Regions from separate parts of the Homo sapiens genome. Here regions 2, 3 and 4 are each linked to region 1. The links are contacts of gene promoters, found by promoter capture Hi-C in blood cells and fetal thymus (Javierre and others, 2016). All regions are on one chromosome and are shown on one strand. The core of a region is centred on a gene start or on the middle of the fragment in contact, and the rest is flanking DNA. Distances in the headings are between cores, read along the strand shown. Region 1 holds the start of CASD1 (CAS1 domain sialic acid O acetyltransferase 1). Region 2 overlaps PPP1R9A (protein phosphatase 1 regulatory subunit 9A). Region 3 overlaps PPP1R9A (protein phosphatase 1 regulatory subunit 9A). Region 4 has its middle 9.5 kb from the start of ASB4.

Region 1 (4,230 bases), core at 1,639-4,138:
GTGGAGAGGAGTGAAATATGGTAATTGTATCTACCTCATAGAATGGTTATAAAGACAAAATGAGTTAAAACATGTAAAACCTTTAGTAGAACAGTCCCTGACATATAAGTGCTCAACGTTAGCACACAGTATTCGCCAAGCTTTACTTTCTGTAGTGGGTAATTCTTTCCTTTACTTTCGGTAGTTTGTAAAGCAAGAGATACTGAATATGTATATCCAAACTGCATTCACTCTACCTTGCCTCAGCACACTCATACTCACACATTCAAAATCCAAATACACAGCCTAATCTCCTTCATCTAATGTAAGATCCTTTCTTATTCTAAAGCAAGATTTTCCAAGCCATGGCCTGGGCTGCTGGAGGCCCAGGATGGCTTTGAATGCAGCCCAAATTCGTAAACCTTCTTTAAATGATACGAGATTTTTTGCAATTTTTTTTAAGCTCATCAGCTATCATGAGTGTTAATATTATGTGTGGCCCAAAGACAGTTCTTCTTCTTCCAATGGGGCCCACGGAAGCCAAAAGATTGGCCACCTCTGTCCTAAAGAGTTATAATGTGAGTCAAATGTATGATTATCTTTGTGTGAAGGGCATTGCACCTGACTCAGTTTGATACTGCCAAAGCATGAGGATATTCCTGGTAAGATGTTTATTTTTCCCAGTCTTCAGCTCAAATTCTTGACATTCAGTCTGGGCAAGTACACTCACCAGGTGTATGCTTCACACTCAAGGCACTGAAGTACCTATGGAAACTGATGACTTACTTCTGGAGAAGGCTTTATAAACAATCCCAGATTGCTACACTGACTCATAAGTCCCCATCTGACATTCTATTCTCCCTGCTGATGACAGATCTTGATAAGATGAAATCTATAATCTAAAAATAATAGTAGTCCAAGGTTATCAAAAGATAAAAAGCACAAAAAAATAAAAGGAAGGGGACTAGATGTTTATTTATCTTAGGACAATAGTACTGTAGTTATAAAATTTCTCTCTACTACCATTACATAAATTGAATTAAATTACTGTTCTTTTATACCAAATTGGCATAAAATGATTAATAGTAGTTAAAAGAAATATTTCCTCAAAACCACCACAAATCAATGCATCAACATTGCTAGTTTTACATGATTGTAGATAAACCAAGGCCTTGCAAGGTCGTATGGCTGTGATCTGGAGAGAGCTGGAGAGAGGCCAAAAGGTTATAAAGAATCTAATTTTTAAAATCAATTTAGTATACTAAAAGCTGTTCACCCAGTATGGCTCTAGAGTACAATATTTTTAATTCTCAAGAGTTGGAAGAAATAAAGCAGCAAAACTGACCAAAATTGAAAGATCTCCTGGGATGAGAATACAGCGCAGACTCCAACAACCCGTTTATGGATATTTTGCCAAAGTAGGTGTAAATTTAAACGGGCACAGCGCTAATTTGCACCTGTCCATTACACATTACATCTTGACTGATTAATCTCACAGTCACCAAGAGCTGGCCAGATAATGGCTTTGATAGTATTAAGAGCCAAAAATAAAAGATCCTATCATTATTAATTTCCCTCTGCCTGTCAGCCTCTCTCCCAGTGACATTTTTACAAAGGAAAAAAAACAATCAATCAGCAAGGAGAAGTAAATATCCCTTGATTACTGAAAGATAATTCATTCTCAAATCAGGTCATATTTCCTTTTCCCCTTTACACCAATTTCAAAACCCATGGCCAAGGCCTGCTTTCAAAGTGCTTACAACTTGCTTTCAACTGCCCACCTTTACGCCTGTCAACCCACAACTTCCTTCCAAAAATCTGCTCTGGTGCCTTAACTTTGTAAAAAGTGTGCACTCCGAAGCCTTTAAACGTTTCTGCATCACAAAAGCTGGGTGGCACCTCTTCCATTTGGCCACAGGCATCTTTTGCCAGCTGTCGCCCTTTTGGCAAAGGAAAATGGGGGCGGCCCTTGCCGCTGTCCAACAGCCCAGACTGGGTGTTACAGGGCAGAGGCAAAATTAAACAAAGGCTAAGGAGCCGGACCCTTAAGAGGCAGGACCTGCGACCCCACTGCTGGCAGCGGTGCCCCTTGCAGGGCGGCCTTGGGCTTCATGCGCCCCGGGCTGCCCCCAAGGACCGCCTGTCCGACTTCCTGCACGCGAGCCCCTGATCTGGAGCGTCTCCCCGAACCCAGACCGCTCAGGAGCCGGACCTCAGCAGCACTTTTGGCCAGGTCCAGGGTTGGCGCCCCCGACCCCAGCGCGGGCGGCTCGGGGCGCCCAGAACCACCAGCCATTGTCCTTTGGTGGCCCCCACTGGGGTCCACTCAGTTGGCCTCGGGCGCCGGCCGCTGCTGGGGACACCTGGGGGAACCGCCTCCCCCGCGGGCCGGGCCGGCGGAAGGCCGCGTGGGCGTGTGTTGGGCGATGGGGGCGGCCTCCAGCCGCCGCGTCGCCGCCTCCCCCACGGCCTGCCCGGGCAGAGGGGAGGGCCCGCTCACCTCGGTAGCGGCGGGAGGCGAGGTGGCACGCTGCGAGCAGCAGCACGGCCACCAGCGCCAGCACCTTGGCGCTCCTCACGCTGAAGTAGTGGTTGATCTCCCGCTTGCCCAGGTTGTAGGCCAGAGCCGCCATCTTGGTTCCTCCATGACAACAGTGCGCGGCGGAGCGGGAAAGGGGCGCCGCACAGGGGCAGCACTGGGGCTGCCGCCGCTGCAGCCAGGCGAGGAGCGGCCGCCAGCTCCCCAGGCCGCCACCTGCGCCTCCCGCCGGGGAACCTGACCCCGCGGCCGCGGCGCCCCCGACCTCCGCCTGCCCCTCCTCGGCCGCGGCCGACTCGGCGGCCTCCCCCCAGCCCCGCCGCCGCTGCTCCGCCGTGCCGGTTCCCCAGGCGCCCTGGACGCCTGTCTCCTCCCCTTCCTCCTCCTCTTTAGCCTCCTGCCTTAATAGCGGCTGCGCCTGCGAGGGGGGTCCGGATGCCCAGTGCTCCGGGGTCACCGGGTCACGCGCCCCGGCGGGCGGCGGCGGCTGCGGCAGAGCCATGGGGGTGTGGGGAGAGAGTACTAGGGGTACCCGCCTGGCCCGGACGCGAGCCTTAGGGCTGTCTCCTAGTTTACTGGCCGCTACCTGAGCCCAGGTTGGGGCAATAGAACTACAGTTCCGGGAGAAAAGTACACATCGTCCCATTCCTTCCTTCCCCAACACTCCCCTTTCTCAGCCTTCTACTGCCAGAACCCGCCCAGCGGGATGCGAAGGACACCCTAAGGTCGTTTATTGTCTGGCTATCCGTGGCCTGGCTGGTCAGTCTGGCTGCCCCTGGGTGCTGGCCAGATTGGATTGATGGATCCAGTTGATGGTGCTGGCCGATGGATTGCTGGCATCCAACCCAGGAGTGAAACCAGTCTTAACACTTAACTCACCGCTCTGGCCAGTTTCTCTTAAACCGTTTTTTTAATGTCCTCAGTTTGCCCAGTTCTGGTGGGCGAAAGTACACCAAAGTTCCGAATGGAAGGTACAGAAGGAGCCTAACTTAGTGTAGGTGTTGATGAGAAAAGAGTCTGACTCTCACTTGTATTTACGCAAGTTTGGCTAGGTCGATGTGCCAAAAAAATTCGTTTTTTTTGAGAGGGAGTCTCACCCTGTCGCCCAAGCTCTAGTGCAGTGGCGTGATCTTCGCTCACTGCAGCCTCCCCCTCCTGGGTTCAAATGGTTGTCCTGCCTGAGCCTGCCGAGTAGCAGAGATTGCAGGCGCCCGCCACCACACCCGTTTAATTTTTGTATTTTAATAGAGACGGGGGTTTCACCATTTTGGTCAGGCTGGTCTCGAACTCCTGACCTCAAATGATCTGCCCATCTCGGCCTCCCAAAGTGCTGGGATTACAGGCATGAGCCACCAAGCCTAGCCAAAAAAAATTTTTCTTAATGTGCTTATGACAATCATCCCCGCTACTAACGTTGGTTAATGTTTTGTGATTCTCAATAAAGCCAGCACTCCATTTCCTTAATAAAGCATTGTTATCCCTACTCTCCTCTCGCTCCCACCCCACCTTTTTTAAATGGTTTTTCTTGTTGCCTTCCAGATGGGAATGGTTATTTACATTGCTTGCCATTCTACTTGCCTTGCCTTGTTTAGAGTGAGTCATTGTTTAGTTGGGGTGTTGTCAAGTATTCTTTACAACTTTCCCATTTAGCCATTCCTGAACTTGTGCTTATAGGCCCCTCTTAAAATTATAGAATATTAGATATGAAGGGA
Region 2 (4,237 bases), core at 825-3,324, 600 kb before region 1:
TTCAAATTAGAGTGGTCTATTTAATAAATTATGAAAAGAATTAGATACCTATCTGAAAAACATTCCTATTTATATCACAAAGAAAAATACAATTCAGAACAAAAATATATACATATATAAAAAGTGCCAAAAGAAAATTTGGGACAATGTTTAGCTAACAGGTTAGAAAGAAATTCACAGATCCTAGAAGTTCTAAAGGAAATAAATAATTTGATTAAAAATAAAGCCCAAAAACTTCTAGGCAATAAAATATACCATAATGAAGTTAGAAGAAAAGTCACAGATTAGCAGAAAGTATGACCAAATATTAAGATGAAACATGAATATTCCTAATATATAAAGGGCTTTATCAACTCAAACAATTGCATGTATAAGTAGGTAAAGGAAATTGAGAATTGAACAAAGAAGAAATACTAATGTCCAATTAATGATATAAAGATGTTCAGCTTTATTAAAAATTAAGCAAATGCAAATTAAAACAAGGAGATACTATGCATTCATCCATAAGAATAGATTTTTTTTAAAGACTACCACATCCAGGCAGGACACAGTGGCTCATGCCTGTAATCCCAGCATTTTGTGAGATCTAGGAGGGCCGATCACTTGAGGTCAGGGGCTTGAAACCAGTCTGGCCAACATGGCGAAACCCCATCTCTACTAAAAATACAACAATTAACTGGGCGTGGTGGCGTGCACCTCGGGAGGCTGTGGCAGAATTGCTTGAACCTGGGAGGCAGAGGTTGCAGTGAGCTAAAATCATGCCATTGCACTCAAGCCTGGGTGACATAATAAGACTCAAAAAAACAAACAAAAAAAAGACTACAACATCCAGTGTTTGTGAGGATATAGAAAAAAAGGATACTTTTGAAGAGGAAAGCATAACTAGAAAGTAGTTATCAATATTTTAAATGTAAATGTCTTTTACATAATCATGTCACATTTAAGTGTTTACAGAAATACTTGCAAATGTGTACAAAGATGTATTTCAAAAGAAGTTCATTACAGCACTATCTGTAATAGCCCAAAGCAGGAAATTGCCTAATTGTCCACCAGTAGAGAAAATGGCTTGCTAAATCATGATATATACAAATATGTAATTCAATGCAGTGATTGAAGAGATGTATATCTCTCTACTGACATGGAAGACCCCAAGATACATACATCGTTAAGCTGAAGAGCATGCTGCAGATAAAGAGAAAGATATTCCCAATTCATACGATCCCCAATTGGTATGGTCCCAATTTTAACCTAATTTAAAGCCCCCTAAATTCCCTAGCTATGTAGCACTTGCCAAGTTGTAAAACCATGCTAAGGCGCAGTCTCCTTATTTACAAAATGGTTTTTATAATAATGCCTATCCCCATAAGAGTATTAGGAAAATAAAATGAAATAGTCCATGTAATTATGCTTGGTTCAATGAGGGGAGAGGAAAAGCTTTCTCAGGGTAATATGAGGGATAATATTTCCCCTGATACCTACTACCCATATCATACTCTCTTTTTTTAAATTAAATTTAAAAACATTTTTAATAGAGATTGGGGTCTCACCATATTGCACAGGCTGGTCTTGATCTCTTGGCCTCAAACGATCCTTCCACCTTGGTCTCCCAAAGTACTGGGATTATAGGCATGAGCCCAGCCTCATACTCTCTTTCATAAACATGTTTTGAATATATCACCCACTAGGATGTTTAATGCCCTTTAAGCAAAAATCTGCATAACTGACTTAGTATTAGAACATAGATTAGGCTGCCAAAATCCCCACCTATGTCTAGAGCAATGCACTGTCATTACACAATGGCTCATGGCCTGCCAGGCTTTCTGTGTTTTCTCTGACCAGGAAGCCCTTTCATCTACATGATCTTGATTCTTTCCATTTTCTTACAATAGTTCTATTATTTTTATTAACCTTAATTGCTCTACAAAAAAATGGATAATTAATCAGATAATAATCAGAGCATGACTCCTCCTGGTATTCCAGCAACACAAAAAACTCTAAAGGCCAACAGCATTCTGAGTCCTAATGTTCAACACCAACAAGATATATGTATTTTTGTAGTTCAAGCTACCTTCACATTGTTCCTGTTTTATTTCACTGAGAAAAGTAAACAAAAGATGTTTAAATTTAAGACTTCTTGTTTCAGAGCCAATAAGTGATATTCTGGTTTCTCGATCAAAGGAAACAAAACAAGACCTCATCCACTGCTTCACAGCAGAGACAGGCTTTCAGGGGTAACAAGTTTACAAACACGGTTAGCAAGGACATTTCTGAACGAACAACCCAAGGCTATGAAAAGCAAATAAAGTAAAAATTAGCTTATTTTAAGATTTCAACTAGAATCATTATCTTATATACATTTTCAGTAGTTTGAACCACAACACTTTTTCAAAACAGCAGCAATACATTTTCAACAATAAGAAAAAAACTTATTTCCTTCACTTCTTTATGACACATTTTCTTTAATCAATGCAGGTCTAAATAAATTCAGCATATTCTATAAATACTGACTGGAAGGAATCTCCCACAATGCTTCCACACGGTCTCAGTTCAGGCTATGGTCCAGGTTCTGTAAAATCTTCCTGACACATCAAAGATGAAAAATGTTCCAGGTCCTAGCATGCTGAGTTTCAGATGATGGCTAGCAAAGTGTGCTCCTGGAGATAAGCCAAACATTCACATGCTTCCACAAACAGGTTACACTCATCACAAGCTTCCTTGGCAGAACCCTGACTCACCTTCACATGATTTCAGTGGCTCTGCAAAATAAGCTCTAAATTGAAACTAACAATAAGCCTGGAGAAGATAGCCACATATTAACATTCCAAAAACCAACCTGGCAAGCCTCACAAAGGAGGATTCTAATAGCTTTAGAGCAATGTATAATCTCAACTTTCCTTTTCTTCCCCCAAATTAAGGTTAGTTCACTGATCGACAATAGGTAGAATTATCTAGTGTATTGATTGTCCAGTGTGTGCCCGGGAGTATGTTAGGTGCTTGCTGCAAAATGAAGTAAGCCAAACTGGAGTTTATAATCATCAGACAATTTAGGGTAAACACTGGTAGTCTCCAAAGATGTAAACAGCTGAGGGCTTTAGTCTACTCCTCTGCAAGCTTTTAACATAAGGAGTATGTTACAATGAAAAGAAATTTCAAACTAAATTCTGCTCATGTAAAAACATTGCTTAACTGGAAGGTGCAAAAAACAGACTCATAGGCCTATCTCATAAAACTCTAAAATCCCAGATTTCTGTCCTTAAAAGTCATTTTGAAAAGTAGCCTGTGTGAAAGGTTTACTTAAAGCAGTTGCAACTACATTCTACAGTAGGATACATTTAACCTTCTAAGTGGATCACTCACCAGAATCCTACATACCACAAAACAGGATCAAATGGAGTACTAGTTAGGTTATTACTCCAAAAGCTGTTAATCTGCAAGCCTCGCCTGACCCAAAGTCTAGTTACATAAAATATTTCTAAGGCTAACCCCTGTATCTTCAACATCATTCATTTCACCAATTATTTGTAGCATACTTAACGTTAATACATTGTCTTGTGTAGATTTAAAGTACCAATATCTGGGTGCAGGCTTCTAATCAGTGTCTTTCAAATAATAACTTACTAATCCTAGTGTGTGGATTCATGATTGAAATACCTAGAAAATTAACTAAAGGGTCCTAAAACAAAGTTACTCCCATAAATATTATGTTATATATGCCAAAGTACTTTAAATTATAGACAATATAGCACTTTACACAAATTATCTCTTTACCAACCAATCTAGGGAGTAAGGCAGAAAAGGGTAAAGAGAGTTCCCACGGTTTTTCATATTTTTACACGAGAAGTTCAGAGGACAATACACATGCTATATATAAGACAAAGTCTATTAGGACAAAAAGTACATTTCACTAATTGTAAGCCTAGTGTTTTAATGGATTACTAAAGAACAAGAAGTTGGGCTGGGCGTGGGGGCTCACGCCTGTAATCCCAGCACTTTGGGAGGCCGAGGCAGGCGGATCACCAGGTCAGGAGATCTAGACCAACCTGGCTAACACGGTGAAACCCCGTCTCTACTAAAAATACAAAAAAATTAGCTGGGCGTGATGGCAGGTGCCTGTAGTCCCAGCTACTCAGGAGGCTGAGGCGGGAGAATGGCATGAACCCAGGAGGCGGAGCTTGCAGTGAGCCAAGATCGCACCACTGCACTCCAGACTCCAGCCTGGGCAACAGAGCGAGACTGT
Region 3 (4,723 bases), core at 2,127-4,626, 690 kb before region 1:
TGTCGTGTGTGGGTATGTGGTGTGTGTATGGTGTGGGGGCGTGAGGTGTGTATGTATTTGTGGTGTGTGTGGTGTGTGAGGGTGGTGTTTGTCGTGTGTGTGGTGTGTGTGTGGTTGTGAGGGTATGTGTGGTGTGTGTGATGTGTGTGTGGGCATGTGTGGTGTGTGTGTGGTGTGTGTGTGTGGTGTTTGTGGGTATGTGTGGTGGGTGTGTGTGGGTATGTGTGGTGTGAGTGTGGTGTGTGTGTGTGGTGTGTGTGGGTATGTGTGGTGTGTGTGTGGTGTGTGTGTGGATATGTGTGGTGTGTGTGCATGGGTATGTGTGGTGTGAGTGTGGTGTGTGTGTGGTGTGTGTGTGTGTTAAGCATGTGTATACACTACTTAGGCCAGTGCACATATGGATAGGGTCTTAAACGGAATGTTTTCCAAGCACCTTGTGATTCTTGGCTTTGGTGACAATGACTGTTGCTATAGATTTGGGGATCATAAAACAAAGGATATAATTAAATTTAATGATTTTAGAGATTAGACCAAATTGGAGTCTGTGAACAGGCTGTTAAATATATTTCCTTTATTCTTCAGTTTCCTCTAATTGCCATAAATCAGCCTGCCTTTTACATACACTCAACCTCCATTTTTAAGCACTGCTATCTATATTAACAGCAACTAAACATAACGAGAATTATTTTATTATTTAAAGTATAGTATCATTTTAGATATTTTGATATTTTAGATATTTTGATATGTCTACCATATAAATCATGCAACTAAATACTACTATAATTTAAAGATATATTTAGTGTTTTGAGAAATCAAGAATTTTGTATCAAAAGATTATTTTCTAAAAAAGTACTGGATTTACAGACAGTATAAATCACTATGTGCATTATTACTGTGTAAACATCATACAGACCTGCTGTTGGACATTTGCTTTTTCCCTTTAATTTGAATCACAAGATATTTAAAGTGTTAGGGGTTAAAAATATCCATGGCTAAATATTAAGAAATGAGTCTAAATTGCAGAACCTATACCTAAAATATATGCTATGTTTCAGAATTGTTTTTTGAATGATTATTTTCAAACTATTATTCAATGCACAAAACACATCACTCTAGAGAAGTTCTTCAGAACATACAGATAGTTAATAAGACACAAAGAATATTTAATTTTACATATGAAGCAGGAAAGTACAGGTAAGCATTACTTTAAACCAAAAAACAAACCTTAAGAAAATAGTTGTTATTGTTATTGCAGTTGCCAGACATTCCTTGCAATTCAGCCACAGTGTTCTAAAATGGTTGACAAAAAATATTAAAGAAGGCTTAACCCCCACCGCAGAGAGCAGCCTGATAAAGGATTGAAAAACACTGAGTCCCAGTGCTTACTGTAATACACACTGTTAAGTACTAAGACAATATTGCGGCATGTTGGTAAAAAATGCCCACACTCTTGGTTTCTCAGTATTATAGATACAGTATAAAGTCTATTTACATTATTATATTCACATTATTAAAAGGCCAACCATAATAATTGCATTCTCTTGTTTACACACACAAGCTGTTTCCAACTAGGAATGGCAAACAGTATGAGTCAAACTTAATGTTATCCCTCTAACACTTTTTATAACATAAATATTATATTATTGTATACCTTTTAATACTTATGCAAACCAAAGCTTCCATTATATTTTTGCCTCTAATTATGACATGCTAACACAAGCAATAAAAAACCATACCCATGAGGGCAGCTACTCTAAACTGTATTCAATACTTTAAAAGATTCTAAAAAAAAAGTTGCTATAATATTGTTATAATGATATTAATTTCCAGTAATGAAAACAAATTATGAAAGAAAGATTAAATTATATTTTAGGGGCTTCAGTATAGAAGGGGCTTCAGTTTCTGGAGTGATGATTAACCTTCTTATGAACTACTGCCTAAGGAGACTTTGAAATGCTATCTATAGCTAAGACTTTACAATGTAACAAATACTATATCTTAAAAGAATATTTAAGGAAGCCAAATAATCATAATTTTTAAAGTGTAATACTTTATTTTAATTTCAATGACCATACCTATTTTCTAACTCAAAAATGGAATATAGCACTAGTTCATACTGTATTTCCAGTCTAAGCCTGCAGCATTTCAAACGGCATAATGCTCTTAAATAAAAAATACTCATAATATATACACACTACACAAAATATATACCATAATTACATCATCTCACTACTAAAAGGCTACAAACTGATAGTGGTGGAGTATGACAAGAGATTAAATGTTACTAAAAAGTTAAATTCTAGTTGAAAAATTTATCATACCCCCCGAGTGTCATGAAATAGTGCTGATTGTCTGAGAGATTTATTGAAATCCTCCATGGCAACCTTTCAGATTATTAAAAAAAAGAAAAGAGAAAGAAAGAAAAAAAAAACAAGTGATCAATACTTCGATTAAACAGAAATTAAATCATGAATCACAGATATATTCAGATATACATTTAAAATTTTTCAATTGTTCAAATATTCATCTCCCTCTTCTTAAATAGGATCCTCCTTTTTATTCTACAGCTTTTAGGCAGAGCCATTTTAACATTTTTTTTTAATCAGAATGTTTAACAGAGAGTAAACAAAAACAGGGATGCAAATTAAAATAAAATTGGCTGTTTGCTTATTTTAAACCCTTCTAAAGATGTAGAGGAAGAAAAAAACAGAAAAAGCAGAAATTTAAATAGTTTGAAAATTATCTACATAGCTTAAATTCTACTAGAGTATGACTTATAATTTCCTAAAGCATTGAAACAGATATGTCTAAGCATAAGCAATATATTGTAAGTTAATCTTTCTCAATATAGTTTTTAGAGCTCCACTGTAGGTTTATAATTTCAGGATCTATTTCTCCCATTGTGATGTTTTCCATGTAGTGAATGCAAGCAAGCAAATACCCTCTGTCAATGTGACAAGTTCCAAGTTACAATCAACTTTGGATGATTTGATCAAAAACAGAAGCTATCTATCCTTCAGCAGAAAATGCTGACTAAGAGCTGGCTCTGGAAATCAGTTGGATGAACTTGGTTGTTCTGTATCTAAATGGAGGTTTTCCTGGCTGGTGCAGGGAATGTCACAGGAGATACTGTCAAATAAAAATAACTCTAACTTTGAAATCACAAGATGATTCTATAAATCATAAAAGTAAAAAAACCAAGTGACTGATTAACAAAGATATACTAATCAATAAATTGTTCAATTATATATGAAATTAACTCAATTATTCAAGGAGCATTTATCCATTAGCTATCCAATATTTGTTCTTCTCATTTCCTTTATGCCTCTTGGACATTTTATTCTTCATTCACAAAGAAAGACAGAGAGTAAATAGAAAATAGGGAAAAAGCACTCAAATCAATCCATTTAATAATTTTTTCAGCATTAGAAAAAAGAATTTGAATCAAGTGACAATTTGAAGTTTTAACATTGGAGTGGATTTTCACTATTTGTACAGCTTTCATCTCTCCTATGCACTGAAAATTAACAGTTGGTTTTATCTGGGCATGTTTTGTTGAGGCAGTGTGTAACATACAAGAAAGGGAAAAAACCCAAGTCACAGAGGATGAGAGACAGATACAAAGGAGAAGTCTCCTTGACTTTTTTCCATAAAGTGAGTTACTTGGAGTAACATAGCAAGCACCTCGTTTTTACTTCTACAACTTGCAGAAAGAAAAACAGTTTAACTTAAAGCTAAACTAATTAAAAAAAATTTGAGTACTCAATTATTCTTCTCTTTAAACTCTATAAAGATGATTCTTATGGACTGTTGCATAGAGAAAATAATTATCCAAAGACTTGATTTCCCTATTATTAGAAATACAGAACAAAGAATCATAGAACCTAAACTCCATCACCGCAAACAGTAATTCTCTTAACATCTTTTGTTACCCAGTTATTCTGTGTCTGCAGGAGTGTTCTTACATGCTACTCAAAAACAGCACAGTGTGTTGCAAAGAGTCCAGGCTTTGGAGCCAGCAAGACTTTATTCCAATTTCAACTCTGCCAGCTACTGGATGTACCACTAGAAAAAAACCTCAGTTGCTGCATTTCTAGGGAAAAAAAGAAAATCTCTTCTGGCTGCATTAAAGATTAAATGAGATCATGTAAGAAAGACACCTTGCAAAGTGCTTGCCACTGAATATTTACTTAATTTCCTTGCCCCTGAAAATATCTGCTCAGGTGACAACTCTGATTACTTTACAAAAACAGGCAAACAAAAAAAATCTATAAACAATCTTCCATTTAAGATGTGATACATTCCTAAGTATAAATGTCAAGTAAAAACTATTCTTTTTCCATCTATTCCAATTATCAAGTTAAAGAAAAATCTGGGCCAGGTAGGGTGGCTCACACCTGTAATCCCAGCACTTTGGAAGGCTGAGGCAGGAGGACTGCTTGAGGCCAGGAGTTCAAGACAGGCCTGGACAACATAGTGAGACCTCATCTATAAAAAAAAAATTTTTTTTTTTTAATTAGCAGGATGTGGTTCTGTGTGCTTGTTGCCCCAGCTACTCAGGAGGCTGAGGCAAGGCAGGAGGTTGGCTTGAGCCCAGGAGCTCAAGGATATAGTGAGCTATGCTTGCACCACTGCACTCCAGCCTGGGTGGCAGAGCAAGACCCTGTGTCGTAAAAAAAAAAAAAGAGCAAAATTTTATATCAACTTTTGGGGATGAATGTGA
Region 4 (4,835 bases), core at 469-2,968, 970 kb before region 1:
GGCGTATTCATTCTCAATTGTAATTACATACTGGGAGCATGTGTGTTTAACATAAAATCTGTTCAACAATCCTCACAAATGGCAGAAATGATTGCTTTGTAAACGGGAGGGTCCAAAGTCCTACGCAAGCACATCTTCGCTTGGAACTCTATTTGTGGCCTGGCATCCCTCTCTTTGGAATGCTGAAGTAATTATTTAGCCGCTACTGCCCACTTCTTGGATCCCATATCAGCGAACAAACCAGCTGCCTTTCATGTAAGAGTATTTAAAGAATTCGTAGCTAATTACCCTGAGTGTTTCCGGAGAATCTTGGTCGCTGGCACGATGCTAGATTGTTCCGTTTCAGCGACTCTCTTTACAGGTGGTGGATGTCAGAATGGCTGGATTGACATAAGCAGTAACCAAGCACTGGCCCACCTGAATTTTGACAGACTATTCATTTCACGTCATCTTTGACTGTGAAAGACAAGGTTTTTTCAGATCAAACATCCCTGCCCCACAGAGGGGGCATTAGCTCTGTGTTCCAGGTCTCCTAGCAACTGACCTGCATTTACACGCCGTCCAGCACAGTTTAAACATCAACACCAGCTTGTATTTCCATCCCTCACCCAGTTACACACTTCACAACATCAACTCGAGGGAATAATTTACCATAATTTTGTCTCTTCAGAACATTTACCTCACAATTGTACTCCAGGCAGCATTTGCATCCTCTTTTTACTTTTGACAAATTTATGATGCAGAGGTGCAGTAAGAAAAAAAAATTATCCTTCCCTTTTAAGGGGTAAAGAAATTGGACTGTCCTCTGTAACGTTCTTTTTACACCCACAGTTGTCAGAAGCCAATAAGTTGTTTACCAATTGCAAAGATTCATCAGTTTTATTTTATACTATGGAAGTATCTAATTCATGAAGGAGCAATCCTCAACACAACACCAAAACTATGGGATATTGCAGGAAAAAAAAAATTGCACAACAAATTTGCAGACAAAGCTGCAGTTAGGAATGGGAAAGAGGAGTGGAGAGAAAGGGGGCACATATTTTCAGAAAACCATAGAAAAATAGTATACCTAAAGAGAAACAACACTCTTGCTTTTTAAAAGAACTTAATTTTGCTTGTAGAATCACAGAATTATAGCAAAAAAAAAAAAAAAGGTTCTTGTTAAGGGTATCAAATCTTCTCATTTAAGAAAAAAAGTACTGAGGCCATCTCACTTACATGTTTGCACAAAATTGCATAATTAATTAGTCGCAAAGCGAAGTCTCCAACCTAATGTCAAGCTTCATACTTTAGTTTTTGAACTACACAACGCTGCCTTTCTGTAGTTTTCTATAGTTTTGCATCTCCTCTCCCTAAACTGATAGTGTAAAGAAAAAATAAGCAGCCACACTAGTGTATATAAGCAAAGCATTCCACTCTTTTTACAGTAGATAAATTTGTGAAAACTTGACAAATTTATAAAATGAGCAATGTTCAATTATTATTTTATATATTTTTTGATGTGATAACTATATACTTGAGAAATTCAAAAGGTGACGTAGAGTTGACCCTTTGGCAAATATTTTAAGGATGCCATTTCAGAAAGGTATTAACAAACACAGCTTCAAATAACGAAGCACATTTTAAAGCCACAAACGTTTTTCTAGAGAGAGAATCAAAATTAAAACCGTGCTGCTAGTTGTCTTTTAGGGACTGTGTTAACACGTCAGGCCACATGATGGCAGTGTTCCTCGATAAATGAACCCGGAAGAACAGCTGCAGTATCCTGGGGAAAAAAAAAAAATCCAAGCCAATGCGGATAAAACGTGATCCAGGTTAAACCACAAATATGGATTTTAAAAATTTTGTTTTAATCCACGTAAACCATATCTTTCCTGATCATATTTTCCTACAATGAATTTCTCTACTGAGAATTTGCTATTGGTTTATGATTTCATAAAATAAATTTCAATATGTATCTAACAAATACATAAATTAAACATTGTTTGGAGGAGGAGTGGGTTGTCCCTTTATTGTTTGTTTTTGCTACAATGGTATTAAGAAGAACATTCAAAATAATAAGCTAAAAATGTTTCATACCATGTGTCTCCAGATTCTTTACAGACCGTTGTCTTATGAGTCTCTGTCTTTGGGTGTGGGAAAGCAAGACAAGCTTGCTTCTCATGCTCACAATTTTTCTCCTAGGCTGAAAATATTCCCTATAAGACCAGAGTGTGATTTCCTGAGTCCTTTCTAAAAAGGCGTGAAGCCACAGATGGAGGTTAAAGCAGCAGCTACTGTCAGTCAAGGCCCCAGGCAAGACTGTGAAATCAAAGATATTGTTCCCGTTTCCCAGCCCTGGTCTTTTCTAGTGTCTGTAGCTGCCCCTTGATTGCTCCAGGGGGTAAAAGAGCTAGGCTTGTCCTCTAGATCTTCCTTCCATTTCTTGATTTCTCATAGGTGAATTTTGTATTTTAAACATGGGCTGTGAGCTTTCTATAAATTTTTTTTTAAATATAAAAAAGAATGTCAGTCACCTGCAAGAGAATATTTTGGGACAAGCATGCAATACGCACCTACCTCACACAGCTAACAGCCTTGGCTGAAAGCTATCCGATGACTCTGGGCTGGGCTGGAAGCCTTGCCGCTGCATACCACAATTTGAACACTATTGACTGAGTTATTATTAGGTGTCTGACACTGTGATAGGTGTAGTAGGGACCGACAGATGTGTAGGATTCAGCCCCAATCTCAAGAACTTATAGACGAATGAAATTAGACCATACTGGTTATACAATAAGGCAGACCAGAATCTACTGTGCCAGAAATACGAAACACAGGGAGCTGGCATTATAAAAAGGAAAGATCACACCATTCGGTTTGAGGAATCAAGAAAGATTTCACAGAGGAAATGGTATTTGAAATAGGATCTTGGGATCTTGATATATAGAGACCGAAAAGTTCAGGTGATTTGATTTCTTTGTTTACACTGTGATGCCATTTAGGAAGGCACCCCATAAATCTTAACTAAGTAAAGATTCTTCACAACCTTGCCAGCTCATGGCAAGGATTAGAGATGGGGGAGAGAATGGCCATCTAATTTTACTAAAAGATAAAGAATATGAGCAGGAAAAATAGAAGATGACACTGGAATACATGATTTGGTTTTATAAAGACAGAAGACCTTGAATGCAAGTAGAGCAATTTAGCTATTAAATAAATTCAAGGCCGGGCACGGTGGCTCATGCCTGTAATCTCAGCACTTTGGGAAGCTGAGGTGGGTGGATCACCTGAGGTCAGGAGTTTGAGACCAGCCTGGCCAACATGGTGAAACCCCATCTCTACTAAAAATACAAAACTTAGCCAGGTGTGGTGGCACGCACCTGTAGTCCCAGCTACTCGGGAGGCTGAGGCAGGAGAATTGCTTGAACCTGGGAAGTGGAGGTTGCAGTGAGCCAAGATTGAGCCACTGCACTCCAGCCTGGGTGACAAAGCCAGTCTCCATCTCAAAAAATAATTAATTAATTAAATTCAACCTGCAATGGGGAGTCACTGACCACTGCCAATATTCTAGGTTGTGATTTTACTTCTAAATTCTACATCCAGGTGGGCGTGGGGAGGGACTATGTAAGGAAAGATGGTCATTGGCTATAGTGTAGTGAGTGTATAGTATATGACCCTACCTATTCTATTGACAGCCTGGATTATGACAGCACTTCTCAAATTTTTCGGTACTTCAGAGTCCTCTGGTGGGCTTGTTACAACACAGACTGCTGGGTCACACCTGACAGAGTATGAGTGAGATCTGAGTTCTTGTTAAATGCCAGTGTTGCTGGTCTAGGCACTATACATAAAAAACAGCTTGTCTATAGGCTCTACAGAACATTTGCCAGGGTATAGAAAGCCACCTCATCCTAAGGATCATATTGCAAAAGTATCTCCTGAATCCCTCCTCCTTAATTACTGTTTCTAAATCTCAATGATCAGTAACATCAGATAATTTTTACCTTAACTACATGCCTATTTGGGGTAAAACCATTTTACTGTTGAAAACATGGTATGCATAATGATATAAAAACTAATTTTTAGATGAGGCATGGTGGCTCATGCCATAATTCCAGCACTTTGGAAAGCTGAGGCAGGACTGCTTGAGCCCCAAGAGTTCATGACCAGCCTAGACAACATGGTGACACCCATCTCTAAAAAAAATTTTTTTTTAAATTAGCCTGGCATGGTGGCATGTGCCCGTAGTTTCAGCTACTCACGAGGCTGAGGTAGAAGGATTGCTTGAGCCCAGGAGGTTAAGGCTGCAGTGAGCCGTGATTGCACCACTGCACTCCAGCCTGGATGACAGAATGAGACCCTGTCTCAAAAAGAAAAACAAAAACTAAGTTTTAAAATAGGATTTTAAACTGCACATTCTGCAATCATAACCAGGTGTCCAGTTGTCAGGGTCTGGAATAACTTAAAAGATATGTACAAAAACAGAGATATAAAAAAAACAAATTGATAAGTGAGCAAGATCCCTTTTGGTAAATTTTGGTTCTTTAAAAAATCAAAGCACACAAGTTATTATCAACTGCTACAGTCCATGTATATCCTATTTTTATATTTGACCTCCCCAAAAGGAAAATATAAATAGCCAAGAAAAATAAATGTGTAAAATGGCAGAGACAATTATTAAACTGAATGTTCAAGAAAAGGAAAAGACTAAAGTTCAGCACATATGCATATTCGCTAATTTGAAGTCAGAAAAGTCTTTCGACCTGATTTAATGTGATCTTCATGTGATCTATAGTCTGGGCCAGATCAAGTAAGGGTGCGCCCCAACTTTTAGCAAATACCACACATAAAAA

The links. Contacts are between HindIII fragments. The CHiCAGO score rates a contact against its expected background, and 5 or more counts as called.
Region 2: a contact is called between a fragment that was not itself captured here and the fragment with the promoter of CASD1 in region 1, in 2 of 17 cell types (M2 macrophages and M0 macrophages). The highest score is 5.9, in M2 macrophages.
Region 3: a contact is called between a fragment that was not itself captured here and the fragment with the promoter of CASD1 in region 1, in 2 of 17 cell types (M2 macrophages and M0 macrophages). The highest score is 8.6, in M2 macrophages.
Region 4: a contact is called between a fragment that was not itself captured here and the fragment with the promoter of CASD1 in region 1, in 15 of 17 cell types (total CD8 T cells, naive CD8 T cells, fetal thymus and 12 more). The highest score is 16.8, in total CD8 T cells.

What each region holds. Positions count from the first base shown.
Region 1 is chr7:94,508,467-94,512,696 of GRCh38, reverse strand. It overlaps CASD1 (CAS1 domain sialic acid O acetyltransferase 1), which reads right to left and starts at 2,888. Exons shown (of 18, transcript NM_022900.5): 1 at 2,480-2,888. The coding sequence starts at 2,612. RefSeq lists silencers at 2,225-2,584, 2,685-2,834, 2,875-3,094 and enhancers at 1,628-2,614, 2,615-3,603. The HindIII fragment of the contact is 8,005 bases long and covers 143-4,230 here.
Region 2 is chr7:95,103,384-95,107,620 of GRCh38, reverse strand. All of the region lies in intron 2 of PPP1R9A (protein phosphatase 1 regulatory subunit 9A), which reads right to left. The region is part of intron 3 of PPP1R9A-AS1 (PPP1R9A antisense RNA 1); the gene reads left to right. Among named protein-coding and RNA genes, the nearest start is that of PPP1R9A-AS1, 110 kb to the left of the region's middle. The HindIII fragment of the contact is 1,276 bases long and covers 1,437-2,712 here.
Region 3 is chr7:95,200,232-95,204,954 of GRCh38, reverse strand. It overlaps PPP1R9A (protein phosphatase 1 regulatory subunit 9A), which reads right to left. Exons shown (of 20, transcript NM_001166160.2): 7 at 1,225-1,290. The region is part of intron 1 of PPP1R9A-AS1 (PPP1R9A antisense RNA 1); the gene reads left to right. Among named protein-coding and RNA genes, the nearest start is that of PPP1R9A-AS1, 12 kb to the left of the region's middle. The HindIII fragment of the contact is 3,396 bases long and covers 1,679-4,723 here.
Region 4 is chr7:95,474,054-95,478,888 of GRCh38, reverse strand. It overlaps a transcript of ASB4 not described here. Among named protein-coding and RNA genes, the nearest start is that of ASB4, 9.5 kb to the left of the region's middle. The HindIII fragment of the contact is 872 bases long and covers 1,283-2,154 here.